Regions from separate parts of the Homo sapiens genome. Here region 2 is linked to region 1. The links are contacts of gene promoters, found by promoter capture Hi-C in blood cells and fetal thymus (Javierre and others, 2016). All regions are on one chromosome and are shown on one strand. Each heading gives the region's core, a stretch centred on a gene start or on the middle of the fragment in contact. The rest is flanking DNA. Distances are from core to core; before and after follow the strand shown. Region 1 holds the start of ZNF326 (zinc finger protein 326). Region 2 holds the start of GTF2B (general transcription factor IIB).

Evidence for each region. Contacts are between HindIII fragments. The CHiCAGO score rates a contact against its expected background, and 5 or more counts as called.
Region 2: a contact is called between the fragment with the promoter of GTF2B here and the fragment with the promoter of ZNF326 in region 1, in 6 of 17 cell types (total CD4 T cells, naive CD4 T cells, activated CD4 T cells and 3 more). The highest score is 13.6, in total CD4 T cells.

Annotation. Positions count from the first base shown.
Region 1 is chr1:89,991,084-89,998,581 of GRCh38, forward strand. ZNF326 (zinc finger protein 326) reads left to right here and starts at 4,027. Exons shown (of 12, transcript NM_182976.4): 1 at 4,027-4,190; 2 at 7,027-7,071. The coding sequence starts at 4,175. It also overlaps the pseudogene GEMIN8P4. RefSeq lists enhancers at 3,679-4,245, 4,246-4,811, 4,693-4,742 and a silencer at 3,833-4,472. The HindIII fragment of the contact is 7,808 bases long and covers 1-5,327 here.
Region 2 is chr1:88,888,104-88,895,601 of GRCh38, forward strand. GTF2B (general transcription factor IIB) reads right to left here and starts at 3,464. Exons shown (of 7, transcript NM_001514.6): 1 at 3,380-3,464. The coding sequence starts at 3,396. RefSeq lists an enhancer at 3,640-3,749. The HindIII fragment of the contact is 16,776 bases long and covers 1-7,498 here.

The sequences.
Region 1 (7,498 bases), core at 2,777-5,276:
ACAGACTGTCCAGTTCCACCCAAGACTGACTGAATGTGATTTTTGTCTTAACAAGTCCCTAGGTGAATCATTTGCATGCTAAATATTTGAGAAGTACTGACCCAGGGGGTGGGGTTGGGATCTGGGACTGATTCTTACAGGAAATAAATCCTGAGCTGTGTTTTGAAGATGAGTACGGTTAACCAGGTGGTGTTCCAAGCAGAGGAAACAACATAAGCAAAAGTTCAGTGGTATGAAAAAGCACAGGGGTGTTTTGGGAACCTGTCGCCTAAAATTGGTAATCAAAAGAGAGAGTGTGGGAGAGAGGAGGCAAGGGAAATGCAGAGAGATGACGCAGTTCAGGCAGTGGCCAGATCCTGCTGCATGTGTTCTAGGGTAAGGAGATTTGACTACACCTAATCCTTGACAGAGACGCATGATGACATGTTGAGATTTGCATTTAGATCACTGCAACCCTGAGGAGGCTGAAAGACAGAGAGATTAATTAGGAAGCTGAGGCAATAGTTTTGGAGAGAGATAATGAGAGTCTAAACTTAGGTTGTGGCAGTGGGGATGAAGAGGAGGGGGCAGGTTTAAGATATTTTAGGCACTAATAAACAGATGAAAGACTTCAGAATGGATTGGAGGTGGGAGGATGAGGGAGGGCTGAGTTTTGACTAGATGACTCGTAAGCTGGGATTAGTGTGTGGCTGTTCATGATGCCACTAACAGAGATGAAAGGATACAGGAGGACGAACAGGTTTGAAATTATGAGTTCAGTTTTCAAAATGTTCAGCTTAGGTGAATATAAAACATGTATAGATGGTCTCTGACTTACTATGGTTTGACTTTATAGCTGTGTGAAAGTGACGTGCATTTAGTAGAAACTATAATCCAATTTTGAATTTTGATCTTTTTGCAGGCTAGTGACATGAAGTAGGATACTCTTTTCCAAGGCTGGGCAGCGTCTCCCAGTCAGCGATGTAATCACAAGGGTAAACAACTGATATTCTACAATGTACTGTGCTGCCAGATGACTTTGCCCAACTGTAGGCTAATGTAAATGTTCTAAGCACATTTAAGGTAGGTTAGGTGAAGTTATGATGTTCAATAGGTTAGGCATATTAAATGCATTTTTGACTTGTGATATTTTCAGTTTATGAAGGGCTTATTGGGATGTAACCTCAAGTAAGTGGAGAAGTATCTGCATAGAAGGGAAAAAAGGAGGAAACAAGAAAAGGGTGGAGAACAGGGTGAATCAATCAGGATGGAGGAGGAAAAAATGCTCTGCCCATTTCCGGGGCAACAGTAATACACATAGTGTATCTGTGAGCTTTTCTTGTAGTTGTATTTCCAGAGGTTGCCTCCTTGAAACTTGGTTCCAGCAACTGGGTGGACCCTGAAAAAAGGTAAATAATTTGATTCATGGTTTCCTATCTGGTGATCAACTCATTGTTGCCACCGTTTGCTCTATGAAAAAAAAAAAGTTTTTTAATCTGTGGTTCAAACTGCTCCAATGTCAGTTTGTCTTTTTCCAGATTCCTGAATGTTTGAATAACTTTGTCCATGTCTCAAACACTGTTTCCAAAGTGGCAATAATACAATCCAGTATGTGTGTGTGTGTTTCTATAGGTCATCCTTCAAGCTCTGGATGACTCTTCTGCCACAAATCTTACCCATCTGTGAACTGTTACAGCTCTTTTATTTGCACCTTAAAATTCAGAACTGGATCATAGCCTGTCTCTAAAGTTATTTTTTCTAGACTTGACATTTTCTCAAGGAGTACAGGTTACTGAAACAGAAGAGAAATTAGTCCAATAACATCTCTTTTAAATGTCTTGAAAATAAACATTGGTGACAGTTTTGGTTCATTATCAAATCAGAACCCCTGAAGTGAAACCTGAGTATTGGCACTTACTAAAAGTGCCCTGGAGGATTCCAGAGTAGAGTCACAATCAAGAACCACTGACTTAAATGGCCAAGAGAGCCCCCCACCTCCGCATCACTAAGTATATCTTCAAAGAAAATGAAACATAATATTTGGCTAAAGAGAACTTTTAACAAACACTAATCATTAATAAATAATAAATCTTGTTTTAGGCCAAATATATATTTTACATTATGAAAGTGCTCAAGAATTTGGAGATATAGAAGAACACATAATCATGTGTATATAAAAAGTCATCACAAAAAGAATCATCGTTCATGTTTTAGAATTCTTTTTTTTTTTTCTAGGCAAGAACTTTAATGAATTGAACTGTTACTGACAACATAAAAAACCAGTATAATATATACAAAATTATCATTTTATGTCAGGATAAAATTTATCATGTTGGCAACAGAATATGTCCTGCCGACCTCCAAGTGGCTGGCACAGTACATCCACCCCGTGACAGGCCCACTGGGACTGTGGTGAACGTGCCTGTACCTCAGTACAAAGTCCCCTTTCCCTGAGAAATGTACAGAAGGAGAGATGAAGAGCGCGTATCCAAAAGGAAGAGGAAGAGGCTGGGTGCCCTGTGCCCCGAGCTCAGAACTTCGGGGGGATGACCGGCCAGTAATTAGGCTGCTTTGGATCACAGTGCTTGTCAAAGCTCAGCTGCACGTTAGCCTCCATGGCCTGGATCTTGGCGGCGCTGTCCCAGTACAAACGCTTCATTTCGGCCTGGCGCCGCTCACCAGGCCTCTCAGCTGGGGCCTCTACCGACCGGCGGGTGTTGCAGTACAGGTCGTGTTCAGCGTTCACGTAGCTGTTCAGGCGCTCCGCATCCAGCTGTTGCCGCCGCAGTAGTTCTTCTCTGTGCCTCTCTGTCTCTGCAAAGTACTGGCGGAGCTCTTCGGTGATTTCCATATTGCTCAGGTCACATGCTACCTCTGCATCTGACTCGGTCTCCATCTCTTCCTCCTTGGATAAGGCTTGGTCTTCTCTTGTGGATGCCTGGATCCTACTGCTGCCATGTGGATGTTGCCCAGACCCTCTGAAATGTGAAGAACTGCAGGGGGAGTCCTGCTAGGCCACATGATGGTCATAGAAGGACTGAGGATACGCAGCCTGGTTATCGTAAGAGCTTTGGGGAAGAAGCGCAGGAAGGAAGAACCATGGAAGACTGAAACAGGATTCCACCGCCTTCCTGTAGGCATTGTGGTGGCTTTGCATCCAAGCCATTGCTTGATGATAATGTTGCCAGTATCTTGCATATACTGGATGAGAATACCAAGGCCTGGTAGCTTTTGATGTTGATGCCTTCACCACTGCCATCTCCGATTGTGAAAGTCCAAATGGGTGCCGAAACTTGTGGGCGCGCAGCTTGCAGATCCTGGGCGGTGGCCAAGCAGGCCATGTTTTAGAATTCTTTCCAGGCGGGTCGCATTGGCTCACGCCTGTGATCCTAACACTTTGGGAGGCGGAGACGGGGCTGGGGGTGGGGGGATCGCTTGAGTCCAGGAGTTGGAGACCTGCTTGGGCAACATGGCAAAACCCCCATCTCTATAAAAATAATTTAAAAATTTTTTAAAAGAATTATTATTTCCATTTTATTTCAGTGCTTTGTCCTTTAAGAAAATTTATTGACATAGCGATAATCAGACTCCATACGCTATTTTGTATCTTGCTTTTCAAATTTGCCACAGGCTTCTAGAAACGTCCCAGACTTCTGTGTCTCCATGGAGGAAACCCCGTAAGTACTTACAAATGTTATGATTAGTCATCCCTAGCCAATACTAAGCAAAAGGTAGGCATGCGGTTTTATTAGTTTGGGCAGGAAGAAGGCATTCCAACCGGCTTCTTTCGCTCTTGCCAGGTTCAAACATGGCGGGCCGCAGCCGGCCCTTCCCGTACACTCGGCTTGCTTTCCCACAACCCCCGCCAATCTTTAGCGCTCCTTTTTTACCTTCCTTCCCCGTCAGCGGCTCCAGAGGGTCAGCACCTCCGAGCGTGACAGCGGACCTGCTTCCCGCCCCCCACGCGAGGGCCCGCCCACCAGCCCGCGTCAGCCAATAGCAGGCCGCGCCGATGGGGCTGGTAGCGCCGGTCGGCCCCGCCTCCCCAGCCTCGCTGTGGCCTGCGGCTCCCGGGCTGGTAGCGCGCCGCTCTCGGTCGCGCGGAGTGATCGTGTGGAATCGCGGGTCGCGGACGCTCGCCGCCGGCCATAGCTCAGCCTAGCGCCGCCAAGGCCGACGGCCCTCAGCCTCTGCCATGGACTTCGAGGACGGTAAGCGCTGCCTCTGGCTGGTCGGCGCAGCTGGCAGGAGGCGGGGTGGCCTACGCAGGGGGTCTGTTTACCGTCTCAAGATGGCCGTGTGGGCTTTGTTCTGCGGGCCCGGAGGCCGCCCGCCCGCCCCGGGCCCAGCGCCCGGAGTCGGCCTCTTTGGGGACCCACGCGCCCCGATTCGGCCCGCTCGGCGCCCGCTGCCGGCGGAGACAAGAGAACTCGGTGTCCGGTAGGACGCGCCTAGAGCGCGAGAGCCTCCGGGCTGGAGCCCCAGACTCGCCTTGGCCCCTGGTAGTGGAAATTGCCCCGACGTCTCCAACTTCCCGGTCTCGGGCAAACGGGCGAGTGCGGCCTCACCCACCTAGTCTCGCATTCGCCCCACAGGGCAGCGACCCAGACCGTCCGTTTAGTTAATCCTCAGCCTCGGGTTACTTCTTGCCAGATAGAATTTTCAGAGGCTTGTTCACAGTGATGTTTCTGTTTGTCCCGGTTTAAGATGAGTTGAAAGGGTGTCTGTAAGTGATATGTATAGATAAATATCTATGCAAAATGGAAAGCAAGATGTTTCCTGGTTAGTAAACTGGGGTGTTTATCACCAAAAATTACCTGCTTATTAATCCCTAACTTGAAATATTTATGTGAACCAAAGCACTTTTCTTTGGATCGTGTGTAGGTAGGATTTAAGTTAATCAGAATTTTGGCACAGCAAGCATCAAATGTCCTTCACATTTAGACCTGTACACAGCCTTGTAAGTGTTTGACTTACGGATTAAATAAACTGTATTTTAGCAATACTTTTCAGTTGTCTCAGATACTAATTCTTTAAACCACTTTTACAGGGTCACAAAGTAATATTAATTTGGTCTTCACTTTTGTTTTCAAACCTTGCTTGGAATTGGTGTCAAGATAAAGTGGTATGTAGTGACAACATTAGGGAGACATGGGAAAGGACTTATGTGATTAAACTGGATTTAATCCTGAGTAACCAGGCATGCTTAAGTAAAACCAGTTCACTAAGTAGGCTGTAAACTTTTAACCCCACCAAAAAAATGATCTTTAAATGAGGTGTGATCTCAGCATATGTCTTACTCGATGAGCTTTTGATTTTTCATAACATTTCATGCAACAAAGAATTAAAGCTTTCATATCTAGGTACAGATTTGTGAAAGGGGACTGGAATAGCCCTCTTGTAGATACTTTTCAGTTACTTTGAAATAGTAAGTTCAGCTCTTAAGAGTAGCACACTCTCGTGGTTTTGTTTGTTTTGGTTGGACTTTAACTCATTTTGATGTAGATACCTTTAAACTATGAATATTTGGGCTGGGCACGATGGCTCACACCTGTAATCTCAGCACTTTGGGAGGCGGAGGCAGAAGAATCCCTTGAACCCGGGAGGCGAAGGTTGCAGTGAGCCGAGATCGTGCCATTGCACTCTAGCCTGGGCAACAAGAGCCAAACTTCGTCTGAAAAAAAAAAAACAAAAAACCAACAACAAAACAAAAAACTATGAATATTTGAAGTGGCCAGAGTTGGGAGTGAAAATAAAAAATATATTATTGTATTTTCATGCTGTAGTTTGATGATAATGCCAACACCCAAGGTATAGCAGAGGCTAACAAAGTGGAGGTGGGGCAGTAGAAACAGTTCTTTCCACTCCCCACCCAAGGCAATAAGGGAATCCATTTCTATGGAGAATTGAAAAACAATAATAAAATGTAGTATGTCTGCTTTCTGTTATTGCCATATGCCAGAATTCTAAACAGTGTCAGTGATAGAAATTCTAAACAATATTAGTGATGAAATACGCCCTGTCTCACTGCCCAAATATACCACTGCTGTATTTGGAAGATGGAGTTTGACTAACACCATATATGAATCTATTCCTGTATAGTGTAGCAGGATTCTGTTGTATCCAGATGACCACTATATTAAATTCTGTTCTTTCAGTATATATTTGTAAAATTAACTAAAGAATTTAACAGTTGTTAAATTAGTTTTGATGAGGAAATTGGCAATATGGTTTTCAGTGATGACACATTCTGCTTGAATATAGAACACAGTCATATATGTATATGCATATGCATGTCTCAGATAAGATCTTGAAATCTTTTTTTTTTTGAGACAGAGTCTCGTTCTGTCGCCCAGGCTGGAGTGCAGTGGTGCAGTCTTGGCTCACTGCAGCCTCTGCCTCCTGGATTCAAGTGATTCTTCTGCCTCAGCCTCCCTAGTAGCTGGGACTACAGGCACGCACCACCAGGCCCGGCTAATTTTTATATTTCCAGTAGAGAAAGGGTTTCACCATATTGGACGGGCTGGTCTCGAACTCCTGACCTCGTGACCCGCCCACCTCACCTTCCCAAGTGCTGGGATTACAGGCGTGAGCCACCGTGCCCGGCCAAGATCTTGAAATCTTTAAAGAGCAAATTAAATGGTAAAAGAAATTAACTTAGCAAAAATTTCATGTTACGTACAATTCTCAGATGTCTTTGCTTTTGCATTATTTGATACATAATTTAATCTATCTGCCTTTGTGTTACTTGGTACAAATCAGTGCTGAATCCCCTCTTTTGGCTGTTATTATGTATCAGGTGTTGTAAACTAATGTTTACCATAATTTGGATAATAAACCTACCATTTGGGGAGATAGTGAAGAAAAAAGAGATACATTTTCTGGAATGGAGTATTGGTAATTATTTGTTTTAACTATTCTCAGTTTTGCAGATAATTGGGTTAATGTCATTTTAAAAATTGTGCTTGTTTTTTACTGGATCGGCATATAATTTTGAATTATTGCTAATATCACACTAATTCCTTTTTGTTAAATGTGTCTTCATAGATTACACACACTCCGCCTGCAGGAATACTTATCAGGGCTTTAATGGTAAGTATCCTCTTTCAGCTTTTCTCTTCATGCGCATAAAAATATAGTATCAATGTAAAAGGCCAGTTCTACCTATTTCAGTCCTTGTTTTGGTTCTTGATATATCATTTATGTGTTAATATTGTCTTACTATATATAGTATTTGAATTGGGGAATGTGCTATCAGAAAATGTTAGGGGTTATTCACATTAGTTTGATTTTTTTTTTGGTCCATTTTGTTTGAATTATGATTATTTTAATGTGTTCCAAAGGGCCTAACTACATTCTGAGTGATGAATCACAAGACACTGGCTGAGTTATTTTGGTTGAATTAGAGGCTTTGGTATTGAGTAATGTAGACTAAGTGGATTATTGGCTTGGTTCTATATAGCTTGTATTGTAATGCATTTTGACCTTGTTTTTGAGGTCATTTTCTTCAGTGTGTCCA
Region 2 (7,498 bases), core at 2,214-4,713, 1.1 Mb before region 1:
GTATGACCTCACAATCATAAATTCTTGGTATCACTGCAAATAAGGCCCTTTTAAAAACCATCTGAAATACAATAAATGGTTAGGTTATGGACATCAGATACACGTAAAAGACAAAATCAACTGTTCTTATAGTATGTAAATAGTATTTGTGGTTTGGGGTAAAGTTTCTCATGCTAGCAAATACAATTCAGAATGTTAACTCTCAACTCAGAAGGTGATATCTACGGGAAAACTGATAAAATAATCCATATTCCCCCCTAAACTTATCTAGTCAGCTTAACTAGAATATGTCTTGAATCTTCTCATTGGGAACACGGGGGGATGAGTATTACTTCATATTTGTGTTTATTCCATAAATTCCTCTAAGGAAAGTATTTTAATAAATTATGACAAATAAAATTAAACAGTTGATATAAATTATGAAAAACCATGTTGAAATAAAGGAAAATGTTAGCAGAGTAACAGTAATTACAAATTAGTAAAAGAGGAGGCCATGTGCAACACGTGCTAAGAACTAATATCTCTGCAGTATTAAAAAGTAGATAGAAAACTATAGTTTGTGTAATGATACAGAAACATCTCAAAGATATGAAGAGTGAAGAATAAGGTAGAAAACCTATACAAAGCTGAAAAGTATGAACTAACCATACACCATAACATGGATGAACCTCAAAATACTAACAGAATCTAGACAGCAGAATACATATGCCATTTATGACAACTTTAAAGCAGGCCAAATGAATTGATGGAGTTAGAAATCAGGATGTGGTTTTCTCAAAGGAGGGGGAATGACTGAGGACAGAGACTTTGCTAGTGTCTTAGCTAGTGCTAGTGGTATCTGATTTCCTTACCTGGGTAGGAGCTATATGTATGTGCTCACTTTGTAACTGAGCTGCCCACTTTTAAAATGTGCTAACTTCATTAAAAAAAGGTAAAAGCAAGGTAGTGAATGGAGTTTAAATTAGGTCACTTTCGTGGGGGAAGAGAGGTTAGAACTATTCCTATACATTTGTTAAAGCATAAACACTAGGAAAACACCAAGAGACTAGTAATTATGGCTGATCCAGGGAGACTTAGATGGCTGGGAGCTAGGAAAGGAGGAAGACTACTTTTCATGGTTTTAGTCTATTGCAATTTTGCTTTTGGACCATTTGTATGTGTTACCTATCAAAATAAAAGTATGCTAAATTAGTAAACTTAATCAAATTACCCACAATACAGAAGAGGAACCATACAAATGGGGTGGTGAAGGTGGTAACAGAGAGAAACAATAGGGAGGAATAGAGAAACCACCACCACTGACATTAAAACGATTCGAGACTACTCAAGTACCAGATAATCCCAAACCCCATTTTATAGCTATCATTTATTGGGCATGGACTGTATTACTTGTGTTATACATTTATTATTGTCAATCTCCACAACAATCCTGCAAGAAAGGCACTATTTCACATTTAAAAAATTATGCTCAGAGAATGATTTGCCTGAAGTCATGGAACTAATAAGTGGCGGAGCTTACATTTGAACTCAGAACATTTGTACTCCTCTGTGAGGACACCAGCCAGTTTCATGGCCTAGTGACAATACACCTTCCTGAGGGAAAAACATGCAAAAGGTAGAAATATTATATTTAGGCTGGGCGCAGTGGCTCATGCCTGTTACCACAGCACTTTGGTAGGCCAAAGCCGGAGGACTGCTTGGACCCAGGAGTTCAGGACCAGCCTGGGCAATGTAACTAGGCCTTGTCTCCACAAAAATAAAAATTAATAAAATTTAAAAATAAAAAAATTAGCCAGGCACGTGGTGTGTACCTATGGTCCCAGCTACTCAGAAGGCTGAGGTGGGAGGATCACTTGAACTGGGGAGGTCATGGCTGCAGTGAGCCATGATCGTGCCACCTACACTTCAGCCCAGGCCTGTTCCATAAAATAAAAAATACTGCATTTAACTTTCTTTGTTGTCACTGATAGAAAAACTTGAGCAATAACTGCTATGATACATAAATTGCACATATCTAGAAAAAAATTTCAGACTTAAAAAGCCATGATAGAATTAAAAAAAAAAAAAGCCATGGTAGAATTTTAAGTCGTATTTGAGTGATCTGGGGAGCCCAAGTTTTCCATTTACCTACAAGGAGGCCTTACCCGACAGAACAACACCCAGATAGAATGACTGAGCATCCAATCCAAGAATCAGAATCAGTAAACAAGAGTGTCACTGGCTTTATGAGTTCTGTTCAAACAGTATATTAGCTAAAGCTGCCTCCCACCCCAAATTCCTTTTCTAATCATAAAATGTAAGTCTTGGCAGTTACCAGAAAAGGCTATTTTGTAAAAATGGCTTTCACTGTGAAATTAACCAATTCCACAGATGATAGCAGGGTCAGAAAAATAGTGCCAGAGTTCCAGAAGCTGTAGAATTAATTTGATACTTTCAACACAGGATTAGTTAACCAAAGGCCAGGTGTGGATAACAGGAAACAGGTTGTCTTAGACTCTACACTCTAACACGACTCTTGGAAAAGTCAACATTGGCATGACTCAGTTTACACTTATGCAAAAATACTAATATCTACCTCACAGTGGTAATGAGAGACATAATTAGGGTCTGCAAGCATTTTTCAGGTCACAAGATTAAAGGCTGTTTCTGAGGGTACTGCATGCATTTCCTGTAGATATGAGTACACTGCATTCTTAAATATATACTAAAAAGCGACCTCCCAGCACATATAACTAATTTTCTTTGGCAAGATTTTCTTCAGAAGTACACAGGCAACGATATTTGTAAACAAATCCTTTAGCAGGGAACTAATCAACTCTTCCGATGGCTCTAGCTTCCACTTCCGAGGCCCGCTGTGATGGTAACCAACCAGGTTCCATCTGGCTTACCAATGCTGACGTTCCCAACTTCCTAGCTGTCAGATCGATAGGAACCTGAAACTAACTGTTTCCCGTTCCTTTGAAAAGGAGAAATTACGGACCCTCGGGTTGTTTGGGCCGTAGATGAAAAAAACAAGCGGGGGGGGGGGCGCGGGGGAGGAGAGGAGGGAGGGTGGGAAGAAGAGAAAATAAAGGGAGATTGAAATATTGGGAAAAGATACGAGGGCAAGGACTGGGGACACAGTAGCCCACCAGGACCCACATAGGGTGATATCTACATAAGACTCCAGGGCAATAACGTCAACAGCTCGGTAACCCCTGCGACACCCTGACAGTCCTGCCGTCTGGAAGTGCCTTTGTCCCGGCCCGTCGGCCAGTCCCGCCGCTTCTCTCCCATACCCCTAGGCGCTCAGCCCTACGAGGCTGCCCGGAGGCCGCCTAAAAGCCGGCGGCGCTCGCGCCCGCCCCTCAGCTCGCCGGGCTCGGCGGGACATACTAACCGGCTGGTAGACGCCATCTTCACGGCGACTGCGGTGCCCGCAACAAGACACAACAGACACACCGAAAGCAGGAAGCGAATGTGGCGAAGAGACGCGCAGAGATGAGTTTTTATAGACGACTCACCCACGCAGTCGTAGCAGAGCAGGGCTACGGGTCGGGAGAAGGGCCAAGAACAGTGAGATCCCATACGTCACGTGCTTTGCGATTTCTTACGTTCTTACTCCGTTTCTGTAATTTGCTATGTTGCTAAGCGAGTCAACGTAACTACCTAGGAAAAGTCTCATGGGAACCCTGCAAAGGGGCTACAACAGAGCTACTCTCAATCTGACAGTTAAAACACAAAGAAAACCCTGGCTTCGTAGTGGTGCCAAAGCCTGCATCCCTAATAGTTTAACCACCCCTTCCTCTCCCACCTTCTCACGGCTACCTTCTCACGGCCACCACCTACCCCGCCCCCAGCCCCCCACCCCGCGTCAGGCACTCCCATTTGAGCCAGTTCTTACGTGCCCCAAGGGTGATTCTTTCTAAGAAATTTGAAATAAAAGGAGAAACTCACTTAGGTCATCCAGAACAGGTGTCTGTTCAGGATCTGTCATCAGCTAGCATGTTGTCTTCTTAGGCACGTCCTTTATACAGGTCATGTAAGTTTATATAGGTTATGGTATCTTGCCTTGCATACCCTTTTAGAATTGGCAGAAGATGAAACAAAACTACGTGAAACCAATGTGTACACAAGAGGCACGACGATATGGGCCATGCTCTGATCATTTTTTTTTCACGGCCTTTGTAACGTTGGCTGATAGCTACATATAGAAAACTTGCGAGAACATCTAGATATTGCAAAATATCCCTAGATTTATTAATTAGCCAAACTAACGTCAAAATTGTAATACCACTATTACTAACAACAATAACAGTTACCGGTGGAGAGTATTCACGTTCTTGGCGTTTTGAACAAAGAACTGGACACAACGCACAAACTAAGGAAAGAATGAAGGAATAAAGGCAGAGATTTATTGAAAACGAAAAGGTAATACCAGCTCAAGACTCCTTTTGCAGAATTTTCGGGGGTTTAAATACCCTCTAGAGGTTTCCCATTGGTTACATGGTGTACACCCTATGTAAATGAAGTAGTGGCTCCACAATCAGTCTGATTGGTTGTGGAAAGCAACCAATCAGAGGCTAAAGTGAAGTTACAAAGTTACACTCCTATGCAAGCGTCTGATTGGTTGCAGAAAGCAACGAATCAGAGATACTTTCAATTTCACATCTGCCACACGGCTAAAGTGTGTGTGTGTGTGTGTGTGTGTGTGTGTGTGGTTGTGTAGTGGGGAGGGGGTTGCAAAGGGAGTAACGTCTGGTTCTTTTGTTACTTAGGTGTGGAAAGTTGGGGTTTTCCTTTTTTTTTTTTTTTTTTGAGACGGAGTCTTGCTCTGTCGCCCAGGCTGGAGTGCAGTGGCGCGATCTGGGCTCACTGCAAGCTCCGCCTGCCAGGTTCACGCCATTCTCCTGCCTCAGCCTCCCGAGTAGCTGGGACTACAGGAGCCTGCCACCACGCCCGGCTAATTTTGTTTTTGTATTTTTAGTAGAGACGGGGTTTCACCCTGTTAGCCAGGATGGTCTTGATCTCCTGACCTCGTCATCCGCCCGCCTTGGCCTCCCAAAGTGCTGGGATTACAGGCGTGAGCCACCGCGCCCGGCCGGGGTTTTCCATTTGATTTAGTTCTAGGAAATCAGTGTGAATCTGCCTTAGGTTCCCTGCCTTCAGACAGTATTCTCCTGCGGCAACACTTTGCTGACAACTATTCTTGAAAATACGGGGATTGGTATTTTCATGGTGGTTTTCATGGGGCTGAGAACTTAGAAGATAATGACTGCTTCCTTCATCTGGGGATGGGATTTAAATGTAATGGAGCACTCACTGTTTTCTTGAGAAGGTGGGAGATACTAGCTTCCTTAGAAAGAAAAAGGGGTGCGAGAGGCAGGATTTTAGGAACTCAAATCTAGGTGGGAACCGGGGAGCATGATTTCTTTTTTCTTTCCCAATCCCAATCTTCTATTTTGTAATTCTGTAATTTTAAAAACTTGACTGTACTCTTGTGGGGGTTTTTTCCTCCCTCAATATTTTTGTCAAGTGCAACCAGGAAAGGGCTTGGGGGTGCTGCACCTCAGTCCAGTAGAGGTTTCATAGTAAAGCATCTTAACTTGGAGGAAGAGGAGGAATAAGACAACTGTGCATCTCTTAAGGATCCAGAACATGGACCTGCACCTAGTGGATTCATGGTAGGCATTCAATAATGTTTGTTGAAGGAAGAAATTGAAACCCTAGAAAAGGGAGGCAGCACTACTGGTTAAATTAACTCCTGCCCCACCTGGAGAGTCTCTTGTCTGTCATAAACTTGTAAGAATTTCTTTTGTATTAAAATAGAAGGCACCTTAGGTAAGCCATTCGTTTTCTTTTGTTAGTACAGCACTGGAAATTTACAAAGCATTTTAATCAACATAATCCCATTTAATATTTATTATTGATCTTGAGGTTAAAATACACACACACACACACACACACACACACACACACAGAGCTGGGGTTTTATCACTTGGGAACCAATAACCTAACTAGCATTCACCAAAACTTCTGGTTTGTATAATAATTGTTACTTAAATTAATTATGTAAATTAAAATGATTTAAAGCAATGGTTTAAATTAATTCATCTTTTTACTTAGAAAGTTATTCGAAAAGTTTATATCACTACTGTGAAATCTCAAGTTGATGTGCTATAGTTCATTTTAAGTATAAAATGTTTTACATGACTAATAAATGATTTAAAAATGCTTGTGACCCACCTGGCATCGTGAATCACGCCTGTAATCCCAGCACGTTGGGAGGCCGAGGCAGGTGGATCACCTGAGGTCAGGAGTTCAAGACCAGCCTGGCCAACATGGTGAAACCCTGTCTCTCCCAAAAATACAGAAATTAGCCAGGTGTGTTGACACACACCTGTAGTCCCAGCTACTTGGGAGGCTGAGGCAGGAGAATCGCTTGAACCCAGGAGGTGGAGGTTGCAGTGAACCAAGATTGCACCACTGCACTCCAGCCTGGGTGTCAGAGCGAGACTCCATCTAAAAAAAAAAAAAAATGCTTGTGACCTAGCTAGATTTCTTTTTTAAAAATCAACTTTATTGAGATATAATTACATATAGTAAAATTCACCTGTTTAAAATTTAATGATTTTTGGCAACTGAGTTGTACAACCATCCCCGCAATCCTGTTTTAGCACATTTCCATCATCCCAATACGATCTTTTATGCCCATTTACATTATATGCCTATCCCATTTCCAGCCCCATGACCCTCTAATCTACTCTCTGTCTCTATGGATTTGCCTTTCTTGGGCTTTTCATATAAATGGAATCATATGATACGTCGTCTTTTGTGTCTGGATTATTTTACCTGTCATAATGTTTTAGAGGGTCATTAGATTTACCTCATGGTTTCACTTTTGAAAACATTTTTAAGTGTCTGCATGGTGATGTTGGAGAAGATGGCAATTCCCCAACTTAAGCAAGGCTTCAGAAATATTTGTTTGGAAATTAAAAGACATATCCTCTTGGACTAGGAAGAACAGAGGATTTGATGGAATGTATGAACAGACCAGATCCTACTAGACTCTTTTGGAGATGGAAAAAGATGCCTAGGATATTAGACAAGCCTCATGTGCCTGGTGGCTATAAGACCATATGTATTGTTCCTAAAAATGTGAAGGTTTTTTAAATTTCTCAGATTTTAAAATTATGTTTGAGAATGTTCAAACACAAAAATGGGACAGAATAATGGGAATAATATTATAAATCCCCATCATACCCATCATCCTGATTACACAGTTATCAAGATGTTGACACATTTGTTTCATGTATCCTTCTCTTTACTTCTCCGTTTGCTGAATTATTTTAAAACAAAGTTTATCTATTACCTGAACCCATATATACATTTATGTACATCTCTTAGAAATACGGACTTTTAAACCTTTTTTACATAGCAATATAATACTTACCAAGTCACCAGTGATATCTTAACACACCAAGTTTTCAGCTGGAGGTGGTCCTGGGCCTGCTTCTTG